Linked DNA regions of Homo sapiens: regions 2 and 3 are each linked to region 1. The links are contacts of gene promoters, found by promoter capture Hi-C in blood cells and fetal thymus (Javierre and others, 2016). All regions are on one chromosome and are shown on one strand. The core of a region is centred on a gene start or on the middle of the fragment in contact, and the rest is flanking DNA. Distances in the headings are between cores, read along the strand shown.

The links. Contacts are between HindIII fragments. The CHiCAGO score rates a contact against its expected background, and 5 or more counts as called.
Region 2: a contact is called between a fragment that was not itself captured here and the fragment with the promoter of FANCB in region 1, in 2 of 17 cell types (M0 macrophages and total B cells). The highest score is 5.5, in M0 macrophages.
Region 3: a contact is called between a fragment that was not itself captured here and the fragment with the promoter of FANCB in region 1, in 1 of 17 cell types (total B cells). The highest score is 5.1, in total B cells.

Annotation. Positions count from the first base shown.
Region 1 is chrX:14,870,559-14,874,766 of GRCh38, forward strand. FANCB (FA complementation group B) reads right to left here and starts at 2,511. Exons shown (of 10, transcript NM_001018113.3): 1 at 2,428-2,511. It overlaps MOSPD2 (motile sperm domain containing 2), which reads left to right and starts at 2,863. Exons shown (of 15, transcript NM_152581.4): 1 at 2,863-2,979; 2 at 3,131-3,200. The coding sequence starts at 2,971. RefSeq lists a silencer at 2,601-2,830. The HindIII fragment of the contact is 4,870 bases long and covers 1-4,106 here.
Region 2 is chrX:14,037,559-14,041,382 of GRCh38, forward strand. No RefSeq gene overlaps it. Among named protein-coding and RNA genes, the nearest start is that of GEMIN8, 9.6 kb to the left of the region's middle. The HindIII fragment of the contact is 7,534 bases long and covers 1-3,824 here.
Region 3 is chrX:14,013,964-14,017,643 of GRCh38, forward strand. The region is part of intron 4 of GEMIN8 (gem nuclear organelle associated protein 8); the gene reads right to left. Among named protein-coding and RNA genes, the nearest start is that of GEMIN8, 14 kb to the right of the region's middle. The HindIII fragment of the contact is 318 bases long and covers 1,106-1,423 here.

The sequences.
Region 1 (4,208 bases), core at 1,261-3,760:
ATCTATTTTATACATAAAATTAAAACAGATGTGTGTGTATACTAGAAAAATGATAATATATACAAGCATATGCTAACATAAAAATAGTAGGCTGGCAATAAAATTATCATCCTCATCTACTCTTTACTGCCCCCCCTCTTAATAAATATGTTGTTCATTCTTTTTAAATGCTCATAAATCATTTTGGCCCTATAAATGTGACAATTCTTTAAATAAACTATCAGTGTGGTTCCAGATTATCCTAGAAGAGCAGATGACATCCAAAAAGTCTAAGAAACCATATTAACTGTGACCAAGAGAAAGTATCCTTGGGAAAAAAGTAAAATTAAGACACTCAACTAAAATGGCACCTAATAATACTGAACATAATTTTATGAAGATAATAATGATAGATGTTGTTTTTCCAAGACATATGACATTGTTAACCAAAGTAAATTAACTTTCCTACAAAATAGGGCCACTGTTAAAAGTTTTTTTCTCCCTACATAAGTTATTTATTGGGTCCTATACAGAATTGATCTCACCTTTTTCAACATTATCTAATATGCCTGAAATGTGAGTAAATGCGGGAGAATCGTGATCAACTAAATTAGAGGATTTGGGAAGATTACGCTAAAGAAGATTTTTATGTCATATTAAGGACTTATAAATTTCTCATATAAGTAATGATAACCCACTGAAAGACTTCAAAAACAGAAATCACAGGACTGTACTTTTGAGTTATGAAGATCCTGGTGACAGTGTTAAAGGTGTGAGTGAGATCAGACTGGAAAAAGAGCTAACAATTAGAAGAAAATTATGAGTACTTAAATAAAAGGGAGAGATGACTCTGAAGGTAATTTGGCAGTCAACTGAAATGCATATACCCAGTAGTTTCATTTGTAGATATAAACCCAGAGACATAATCCCACATATGAATGAATACATTGCTCTAGAAGCTCACTGTGCTGATATTTGCAATATAAAAAAAGTAAAAACCTCAATGAACACCAATAGGGGAATGAGTATAGATGGACTATCAAACAAGAGTTAAAAGGAATGAATTAGATCTATCTATCTATATATGTGTGTGTGTGTGTGTGTATATATATATATAATCATGGTTAAATTTCAAAAATAAAATGAATTAAAAATTAAGTTGCAGACAAATGTACACTGCAGCATATTATTTATGTAAAACAAATAAAACAGCATTATATATGTTCTATTTACCTACAATGACTACAGTCCCTGAGTGCTTTCTCAAGAAATAGTGCCATGTACTATTTTTTTTTTTTTTCCTGAAGAAACAGTGCCAGGTACTGCTCTAAGCACTTTGGATTAACTCGTTTCTTCCTCACAACATCCTTATGACATAGGCACTGTTACTATCCCATTTTATAGATGGAGAAACTGAGGCAAGGAGTTTCAGGATCTTCTCAAAGGCTTGCAGATAAGAAGTGACAGAGCCAGGATTCAAACCCAGGCAGTATGATCCAAAATAAAAAAATGTAAAACTGTAAACATTTCATGCCAAATTCTGAATGCTGTTGATTCTGGACAAGGAAGTGTCCAGGATAGGTGAGTAGAGGTAGAAGGAGACTTTAGTTATATCTGAAATATCTTTTAAGGATGTAGTCAAACAACGTTTAAACAATGTGTTCATTTTTTCCCATAAAAAATGTAAATATATTTAAAAGTCTAGGACAAAAGATGCTAACATGCCATTCTGTCATGGATGACTACGGTTGATGGAAATATGGGGGACTATTCTTACAACTTGTTTGTAGTTTTCAGTATCTTTCAACTTTAAAAAAGGCAATATTGTATGCGCAACTATTTTCTTTCAATTGTTTTTAACTGACGAATAAAATTTGTTCCAGTCCCTTTAAATCTAAATCTTTCTCAACCTTGACACTATTGACATTTTGGGCTGGATAACTGTTGTGAATTTTCATGTACACTGGAGGATGTTTGGCAGCTTCCCTGGTCTCTATCCACTAGTAGCCAGTGAGCATCTCTTTTGCCCCCGGCCCCTAGCAGTGGTGACTAAAAATGTCTCCAGAGGTTGCCAAAGGTCCCCTGGGTGGTAAAACCGCCCCCCCCACACACACCCCCCCACCCCCCCGGCTGAACACAACTACCTTAATAAGCCGAAACACGCTTTTTTTAACTTTATATAATTATTTGAGATTAAAGATTTCAGAGATATTTTGCTCATTAAGCATCTCACACTCCAAGTTGGAAGGATACTGAAGGGATGAAAAAAACTTCAAGCGAATGTAGCACTTAAAATCCAATTATCATTGCAAGGAATGACAGACCCAGGTCTCGGGATGCCCGCTTCCTTCCCTCTCTCCCGCAATGCGGGGACAAGGGGAGGAAATCCAGCCCCATCGCCCCCTCTGCGAAGTCCTGGGAAGGGAAGACTCGCCAGCCCCATCCTACCTCAACGCAGCGGCAACATACCGGAGGCCCCACGTCGATACGGTATCCATCTGCTCCAAACCTCCCGCCAGCGCGCTGCATCCTGGGAGGCCGGGCGGAGGCTGCGTCGAACGCAGAGGAGGCGGAGCCTAGAAGCCAGCCAGGAGAGGTGGCCAAGGGAGGCTGAGGAGGCGGGGCCCTGGGGAGTGTTGTGAAAGCAGAGAGCCCGCGAGCTCTCTAGGGCGGAGCTCCGCGGGGGAAGCGCCGGCGATCTCGCGGCTGGCGGGGGCGGGACCGCAGTGCGGGGGATGTCGCGGGGCGAGGCCAGACGAGAATCGAATGGGACCTAGGCTGAGGGCCTGGTCCCGCCTCCAGACCCAGGCGTCCGCATTGGATTGGGCGGTGCGGCGGCGCTTCTGTCCGCCTTCCGGTGTCACGCGACCGCCTCCCCCTCCCACCCTTCTCTGTCTACCTCTGGGCGGGACTGCCGGGTGATGAGATACTCGGTCGGCGACGGTAGAACGGGCGACGGCGACAACCGCAATCACATCCACGACGGTGATCATGGCAGAGGTGAGGAGCCTATTGCACCGCCGCTGGCCCCCCGGACCCGGAAGCCGCCTCTGAGGCCCGGGGACCGAGCGCCCGTGTGCAGGTGGGCTGGGTTGAGGGTAAGCGGGTTGATGCAAGTAGTATCTAAGGTCCCATCGTGTCTCCCATCCAGAATCACGCCCAGAATAAAGCCAAGCTCATCTCTGAGACCCGGAGGAGGTTCGAAGCTGAGTATGTGACAGGTGGGTACTCTGTTCCAGGTATTAAGAAAGGTGTGCAGTGAGCATCCCCAACTTTGCTGGAGTGTTTGTGAGTGTATTTGTGGGAGGTGTTAGGGACCCTTTCGACCCTCACAGGAATGATGCTGGGCACGTCTCAAAGGTTTTCCTCTCCATGACAAGCCGTGTGCACTGCTTCAAATGGTCAAGTGGTGTGTCCCATGCTCCCTTTAAAGGGTTAATGTAAGTTGGAAATCGGTTAAGTTTTTAGCATGCCCTCGTGTTTATGGAACTTGCAGGATACTTGTTAGGCCCACAACACGGGTGACATTGTCCAGTCCACGGTTCCACTGCTGGCCTTTCACCAGCAACACTAGCGAAAATGTACCTGGAAACTGCCATAATACTATTGATGTGTACTTAATTGGGTATACAAATTCCTTGGATATTTTGTTTGATTTGGCTTTCATACAACCCAGCATGCTACCCACAAAATAGGCCCTCCAATGCTGGAACAAGTTCTTATCCCAAACTGTATCTTGCAAAGTACCTATGAGTCCAGAATTGATTTATTGGTTGAACATTCTGTGTCCAGATGTCACAGATACTTGAGTTGTCAGGTACTTAACTGAATATTTAATGCTTGTACAGTAATTTTGTAAAACATACGGAATAACTTATTGTAAATATGGAATTAAATAAGGATTTATATGTTGCCTACCTTAAGATTGATTGTAATCCTAACCCTGCCACTACATAGCTTACTTGTCTATTCTGAGCCCGTTTTCATATCTGTGAAGTGCAAATAATAAAGTTAGTAGGATTAAATTTTTTAAAAAAACATAAACCATCTAGCATGTCTTAAAATATAGTGGATTCTCAGTGAATATTTTGCCTCAGTTGTCATTTTGGTTACTGTGAAAGGAGTTAAGCTTCTACATCTTGACTAGTACTCAGCAGAGGTTCCCTGCAACTTTAAACCATCCTAGATTATACATCAGTTGATGACATAGAACAAATATGGAAATCGGT
Region 2 (3,824 bases), core at 1,048-3,547, 830 kb before region 1:
AAAATGCAAAAATTAGCCGGGCGTGGTGGTGCGTGCCTGTAGTTCCAGCTACTCAGGAGGCTGAAGCAGGAGAATCGCTTGAACCCGGGAGGCAGAGGTTGCAGTGAGCCGAGATCGCGCCACTGCACTCCAGCCTGGGAGACAGAGCGAGAATCCGTCTCCCCGCCGCCAAAAAAAAAAAAAAAAAAAAAAAAAAAATAGTGAATGCTTATACACTACTTGTGGGACTGTAAATTAGGTCATCCACCGTGGAAAGCAGTTTGGAGATTTCTCAAAGAAGTGAGAGTTGAACTACTGTTCGACCCAGCAATCCCATTACTGGGTATATACTCAAAGGAAAAGAAATTCTACCAAAAAGACACATGCACCTGTATGTTCATTGCAGTGCTATTCACAATAGCAAAGAAATGGAATTAGCCCAAGTGCCCATCAATGGTGGATTGGATAAAGAAAATGTGGTACATATGCGCCATGGAATACTACACAGCCATAACAAATAATGAAATTATGTCCTTTGCAGAAACATGGATGCAGATGGAGGTGATTATCCTAAGTGAACTAATGCAGGAATGGAAAACCAAATATCACATGTTCTCACTTATAAGTGAGAGCTAAACATTGGACACACATGGACATAAAGATGGGAACAATAGACACCAGGGAATACAAGAGGAGGGAGACATGGAGGGAAGAAAGGATTGAAATACTACCTGTTAGGTACTATGCTCACTTCCTGGGTGATGGTTTCAATTGTACTGCAAACCTCAGCATCATGCAATACACATTTGTAACAAACCTGCGTGTGTACCCCCAAATCTAAAACAAAAGTTGAAAAACAAAACCAAAACACCCCCCCCCAAAAAAAAGAATGACCTCAGACCAACACCTATGAAAGGGAAAGGAAAGCACGAGATTGGATAGAACAGGGTTTTTCAACTGTGGCATAGAGACATTTCAGACTAGGTGTAACACTTTGTTGTGGGGCTGTCCTGTGCACTATGGGATGCATAGCAGTATCCCTGGGCTCTACCCACTAGATGCCAGTAGCACACATACACACCTCCCTCCCCTTCAGTTGTGATGACCAAAAGTGTTTTCAGACATTGCAAAATATGCTGGTGGTGGGGAAGGAGGGGATAGCAAATTGCCCTCAGTTGAAAACCACTGGGGTAGAGAGAAGGGCTGAGCTTGAATGTGTGCCTAACAACTGTGGTAAACCCCAGGGGATTTAGGGAGCCAGAATGGCCCTTCTGAGTTGTAGAAAGTTGGGCTGATATGGTGGGCACTTTTTTCTCCAGCATGGATCAGTCATTGGATGTGGGCTCCTGAAAAGGGGTGTGACATTGCGTAAGGAGGCTCTCTGTGACTGGAGCCGCAAGTTCCTCATTGAAGGGGAATCTGGAACATCCCAGTGTTCATGGCATGTGCTACTCTGCAGTTGTTCATTTACTTCTCACCATTTTCCATTTAATAATAAAATTCTTGAGAATTGAGACCACATATTATTTTGTTGTGTATCATTGAAATCCAGTATGCTACATGGGAATAAATATTTTTAAATAATGAAACGAAATGAGACAATAATTGGGTGGATATTTGTAAACTTAAATATGATAATAAATGGTTTCATTATGCATTTTATTGAGATATGAGAAACTTTCAAGAGATTTATCCATATTTATATTTAGTTATGAGTTCTTTTTTGAGAAGTAACAATTTACTCAGCTGACAGCACTAAACAGTACTGAGCTAATCTTTAACAATGTTTTGATTTCTGTAAATGAGATTATCAGTAATTTAAAAAGAGGATTAGGAAGTTTGTGTGGGATAGAACCAACTAATTGCTGAAATATACACAGAATTCAAGTATTGAAAAGTTTTACTTTAAAAAGATGTGATTATAAAGCATTGTTTCCTATGTATAGCCCTGTAAAATAATACCCATGTGCATCCGGCAGAGGGCACAATTGTACAAAGTATTGGAGAAATGCTTTTAAAAGGAAGTGCATTAATCTCTCAGTCATAGGCTGTAGTGACACATGTCAGTCACATGTAAATGACTCTATACATCTAAAATTCAATAGTGTATTGTTTTTAGATGATATTTCACTACTGCGTTTCCAGCTCTATTCTTTCACATTGTTTTTAAAGTTACTACATCTTCAACAAAATCCGAATTAGGTTAAAATTAATCTCTAAATAATTTTCATTTCAACTGGCTAAAATAATTTGAGGCCAACAATGTGTAAGGCTTTTTTAGAGCATAATTTTACGTATGTTATGTTTTCTGTCCTCACAAGATATTTTATGGGTCATTGACATAGAAGCACAACTACATATACTGTGCAGAATCACCCTTCTACATTAAGAAAAAAAATCAGGTCCTGTCCCTGTATACTGTCAGATTTTTCTTGGCATGGATCTTGTACATGATGAGCTTGCACGGTGAAATGGATGAATCCCTGTCCGAGGGATGGAAGGTCTGTCTTTGTCCCTTCCTGGTTGTGTCACTACTTCTCAGAGCCTGCCTATCTTCATCTGTTAGTAGAGGAACAATGATGCCCACGGGGCCCTCTTCACACATGGGTGTTGTGAGTTCATGGTTTAAGAGCCATGATATCCACTCATTAGATGCATGTGCCATAGGACAGGAGTAACTGAGTAACTGAAGCAACAGCAGGCGTCAAGAAGTGTCCACTGGACGGTGGTCAGATTCTCTAGTTTTCCCTCTGCTAAGAGTTTGACTGAATGAATCTCTGGGTTCTTGGGCAATTCAGGGAAGTGGGGGAGAGTCAAGTGAGGAGTTAAATTTCTGCTAATCTGGGGAGGAGGGCTTTGACTGGTATTACAACCTCATTTTCACCACAACCTCGTAAAGCAAGTCACTGTTCAAATACATTTCTTAATTTAGATATATTTCTAATTTCACTTTGGTGAATTTATTGTTTGATAGTAATCCAAAACTACACAAGGACAGAATAGCTGTATATGTGAAGGTGTTTATTGCAGTATTGTTTATTGATAATTGGTAAAATTGAAAGCAATTTAGGAACATGGACTATTAGGCAGCCATCAAAATGAAAATTATGAATATTATATAGGCACATGGAAAGTATGTGATGAATGATAAGTCAAGTCAAAGCAAAATAAATCATATATTATGCTAATAGCTATGTAAAAGTTGAGAATATATGTGGTTGGGGAACAATGGCAAGAAAGATGGAATGGTAATAACTTCTAACCTGTCCAGGAGTTAGTAGCAGTCTTTGTGTGTGTGTCTCTCTCTTTCCCTCCTAAATCACATTATTGCGGTTATAGTATATTTGTAGAATGAGACACTTCTAAAGAGATTTTTCGTGCTTTGTTTGAAATACAGTAATGCCCAATTTGTCCAGTCTGTTAGGAAAGAAGTGGCCTATTTAAATGACTTATGAATCTTCTTTTCCCCATTAACTGATGTTTACTCCTCTAAACACAAAAACAACAACAACAAAACCATTTTGACTAGAAATCTTTCTAAAATCTATTGTGTACTTTCCTGTCTTCTCCAACAGTTTCCTGAGCACATTTTATTCTTGTCTTTATATCTCAGGCTTACCATGATGAATGTCAATTTCTCTCCCACACTAGAATGCAATGAGCAATACAAATATAGGGTTATTTGCCTCTACATGGCATGATCAAATCTCTTTTGAGTTTTGATTCCTTGGTTCTTATTTTTACATGTTTTCTTTTTTTGTTGTTTGTTCTTTTTCTCACTTTTAGTCTATCAGGTGTCATTTTAATGATTGTCAGTGTTCCAGCCTTTGGCAACCTATCCTTCC
Region 3 (3,680 bases), core at 15-2,514, 860 kb before region 1:
ACATCAATCTATTTGTCTACATGATGTGACCAATGTCACATCACGTAATAGTCCATAAAGGAAAAAAAAAATCATGGAAAGTTACCAGGACTTCAGAGAATCTTATATAGCAGGAAAACTTTCATCCAAGATTATTCCACACATAGAGCCCAAAGGCAGAACATGTTAGAGGATAAAGCATGGAGGCAGCAAGTGGCAAAGAATGTTTTTTCCCCTCACTTTCCTAGGACTAGTACATCTTTCTGATTATATTTTCTGCTATTTTGCCAAAATGAATAATTGTAGCACAACCGAGGGAAAGCACAAACTTGATGTATGCCATGAATGCCTCATTTCTGGCTTGTCAGCAACCACCCAGAACACAGGTACATGCCAGCAGAACTGGAGCCATTTCAGACTGGTCTTCTCTCTTCGTCGCACATCCCTTGCCCCATGACAAATGTAATCCTGAAGTTACTGGACAACCGCCATTTTTACTTTTACAACAGAAGTGCATTTTCATGTTCCTTTCCACTTTTCTACAGCCATTAACACGTATCATCTCACTGATCGGTTTTGTGCACCTGTGAATATCTGCACCAGATGAAACACACACGCATGTCAGGATTGTGCTCAATCACTGCAATTTCATCCTTCAACCTCATTGACTAAAGCAAGACAGCTCACTAAATACTGGGCCATAAACTTCACCGGGTTCTCTCTAGGTTTGACTGACTAAAGGCTCACTATGAAAACTACAGTCTCAGCCTTCCCACTCAGATGGACACAGTGTAATGGAGCAGATGTCTCCCCTCAAACGTATGAAAACCACATCTGGGCATATGAAAACCACATCTGGGCTCTCTGGTAAGAACAGCACTTTGAGTGTCTAAGCCGGGAGTGAACTAAGTCCTTTTTTCTCTCATTCCAAATTGACCCTATCCCTCAAATTGGCCTAGTGCATACCTTACTTCTTGACAGCTGCCCCGCGGTGCTCCTCCTTTGACTGCCTGGGTCACTGGCTCTACCCCTCATGTGCATGTATAACCATGAACCACACCATAGACACTCTTCTTCTATGTGTCACTTTACATTTCATTTTGTCTCCTCTTCCCAATGGGGTTTAAGCTTTTAGAATATGTCCCTGTTTTGAGCCAACACCCTCAAAACATAGGTCATAAATACCTGATTGGCTCAAACCCGAGAAAACAGTGGTGGTGTTTGTTTCAGAGGGCCTTACTCTCTTTTGAGGGTGACTTCCACTCATTTTCCCTCTAAGTATTAGCAATATAACCTTGCAGTCTCGACCAGTGGTCACTTATGACTACAAAATGGTATTTTTCTTAACCTAATAATAAACATTTTTCCTAAGAAATAATTGAAAACACAGCTGACCTTTAAAACTTCATAACTGTAAACTTTCTCATAAGTTATTTTCCATTGAAGCTTTAAGTAACGGAAATATCTTGTTAGGAAATGATGACAGACATAATCAAAAGCATGCATGTTCCCACTGTACAAAAGGAGTTCTTATCCTAGTCAAGCTTTTGGTGTTTTTTATCCTTGAAATATGTTAAAGTAGAGACTATCTGGAATCTGAGTAGCAATCACAAAAAAGAACATACTGTCCAATCTGAAGGCCTTTATCCTAAGAAAATATTAAACAAGACTCAGGCGATGATGAATTGCATAACTTGTATGTTCCTGTGGAAGTGAATAATACTGAAAAGTTAAATCTTTCAAATTTAGTGACATTTCCTCTTGCTAGTAACATTTTCTAAAATCCTGTGTTCTTCAAAGCATTCATGTTCAAAGCTGAAAATGTCCTTATTGAATAAGTAGCTTCTAGTGGTTTTGAGAGCAAAATGAAACAAAAAACTTGAACCAATTATTCATACTACCCAGGTCCCTTATCTCTTTATTAAAGCTTTTTCCAACAGTGTATGTAACTAACCCTCCATGAAAATTTCTGGTGAAGGTAATGAATTGGAAAGCGCCATGGGCACTCAGATTACTTACATATGAATTCCATCATTCATTACCGCTTGAAGAACAGTTGTTCATCCTGTACTCACCAAAAGTGCTGCTGAAAAAAATAATGCTAGTGATCTATTGCCCATTATTTTCTTACTGGTGCAAGATCGGGCCCTGGCAGCTGCTTCTAATATAGACGAAGTCTTTAGATTCCAGTCTGACACCACAGTCTGTTCTCACCCTCACCAGACAATTCTCACATCTCCCTGGGACCAGCTAATGCATTCAGGGAAGGCTGTAGGAGCATGACACAGACGCTAAGAAAAGTAGTTTTGAATCATGCTGTAACTACACATTTTAAAAATACAAAGAATTGAAAGCTTGTTTAGGGACATTATTAGTAATATTGAAGTGGGTTAATTTTCCCAGTCCATGTACTTTACTGCATTAAATTTTATCAAGCAAGAATATCCTTGAAACAGAACTAAAAACTGTGTTAATTGCTAAATTTGATAGACACCAAAACTTTCATTCTTTCATGTCTTTAATATTCTAAATCAGTTTAAAAGTTTGAAAGGTGCCACCCAGAGCAGAAATATGACCTTTCTGAAGTCACAGAACATCTTATTAAAAATATGCAGAATCTTAGCTGGGCGCGGTAGCTCATGCCTATAATCCAGCACTTTGGGAGGCCGAGGCAGGTGGATCACCTGAGGTCAGGAGTTCAAGACCACTCTGGACAACATGGTGAAACACCATCTCTACTACTAATAAAAAAATTAGCTGGGTGTGGTGGTTGGCGCCTGAAATCCCAGCTACTTGGGAGGCCGAGGCAGGAGAATCACTTGAACCCGGGAGGCATAGGTTGTAGTGAGCTGAGATGGCGCCACTGTACTCTAGCCTGGGTGACAGAGTAAGAATCTGTCTCAAAAAAAAAAAAAAAAAAAAAAATATATATATATATATATATATATATGTACAGAATCTCAATCAAGCACTAATCAAGGCAAACGGTATCAGAGAAAAACCAATTTATGGTTAATAATCCATGTTAAAGGATGGGTTACTAGCAACTAACTGTAACAATAACATTTATTGGGCACCAACTTGGTACCAAGCACCATTCTATAACTTTTCTCATATTATCTCATGGATTCTTCACAATTACTACCCATTAGGGATTCTTCATAATTACTACCCACTAATTAGGATCCTATTTCATAGGTGAGGCAACTGAGGCAAAGAATGGTGAAGGCAGGGGGCTTACAGGAGGACGAGAACCTCTAATCAGCGAGTGGTAGAGTGAGGCTGGACCTCTGTGATTCAAGCAGTTCTGCCACAGCTGCCTCCATACACTGTTGCCAGCAATAATATGAATACTGGAAAATGAGGTTCAAGATGGAAGTTGCAAGGGTTTTCATAAAATTCCCTTTTATGATGGTTTGCTATCTAGATCACAGTAAAACAAATAAGTAATACAGTTTTTTCAGACAGATGACAAGAACTGTGGGTTTACTTTATGTCCCAGTCACAGATTGCATTTGGGGACAAAGAAAATTCTCCCAGGGTGATTGTACTCCTTTCCTAGGGCTGCCATAACAAAGTACCATATACTGGGTGGTTTAAAACAACAGAAATGTATTGTCTCATGGCTCTGGAGGTCAGAAGTCTGCAATCGAGGTGTTGGCAGGGCCATAAACCCTCTAAAGGTGCTAGGGAAGGATCTG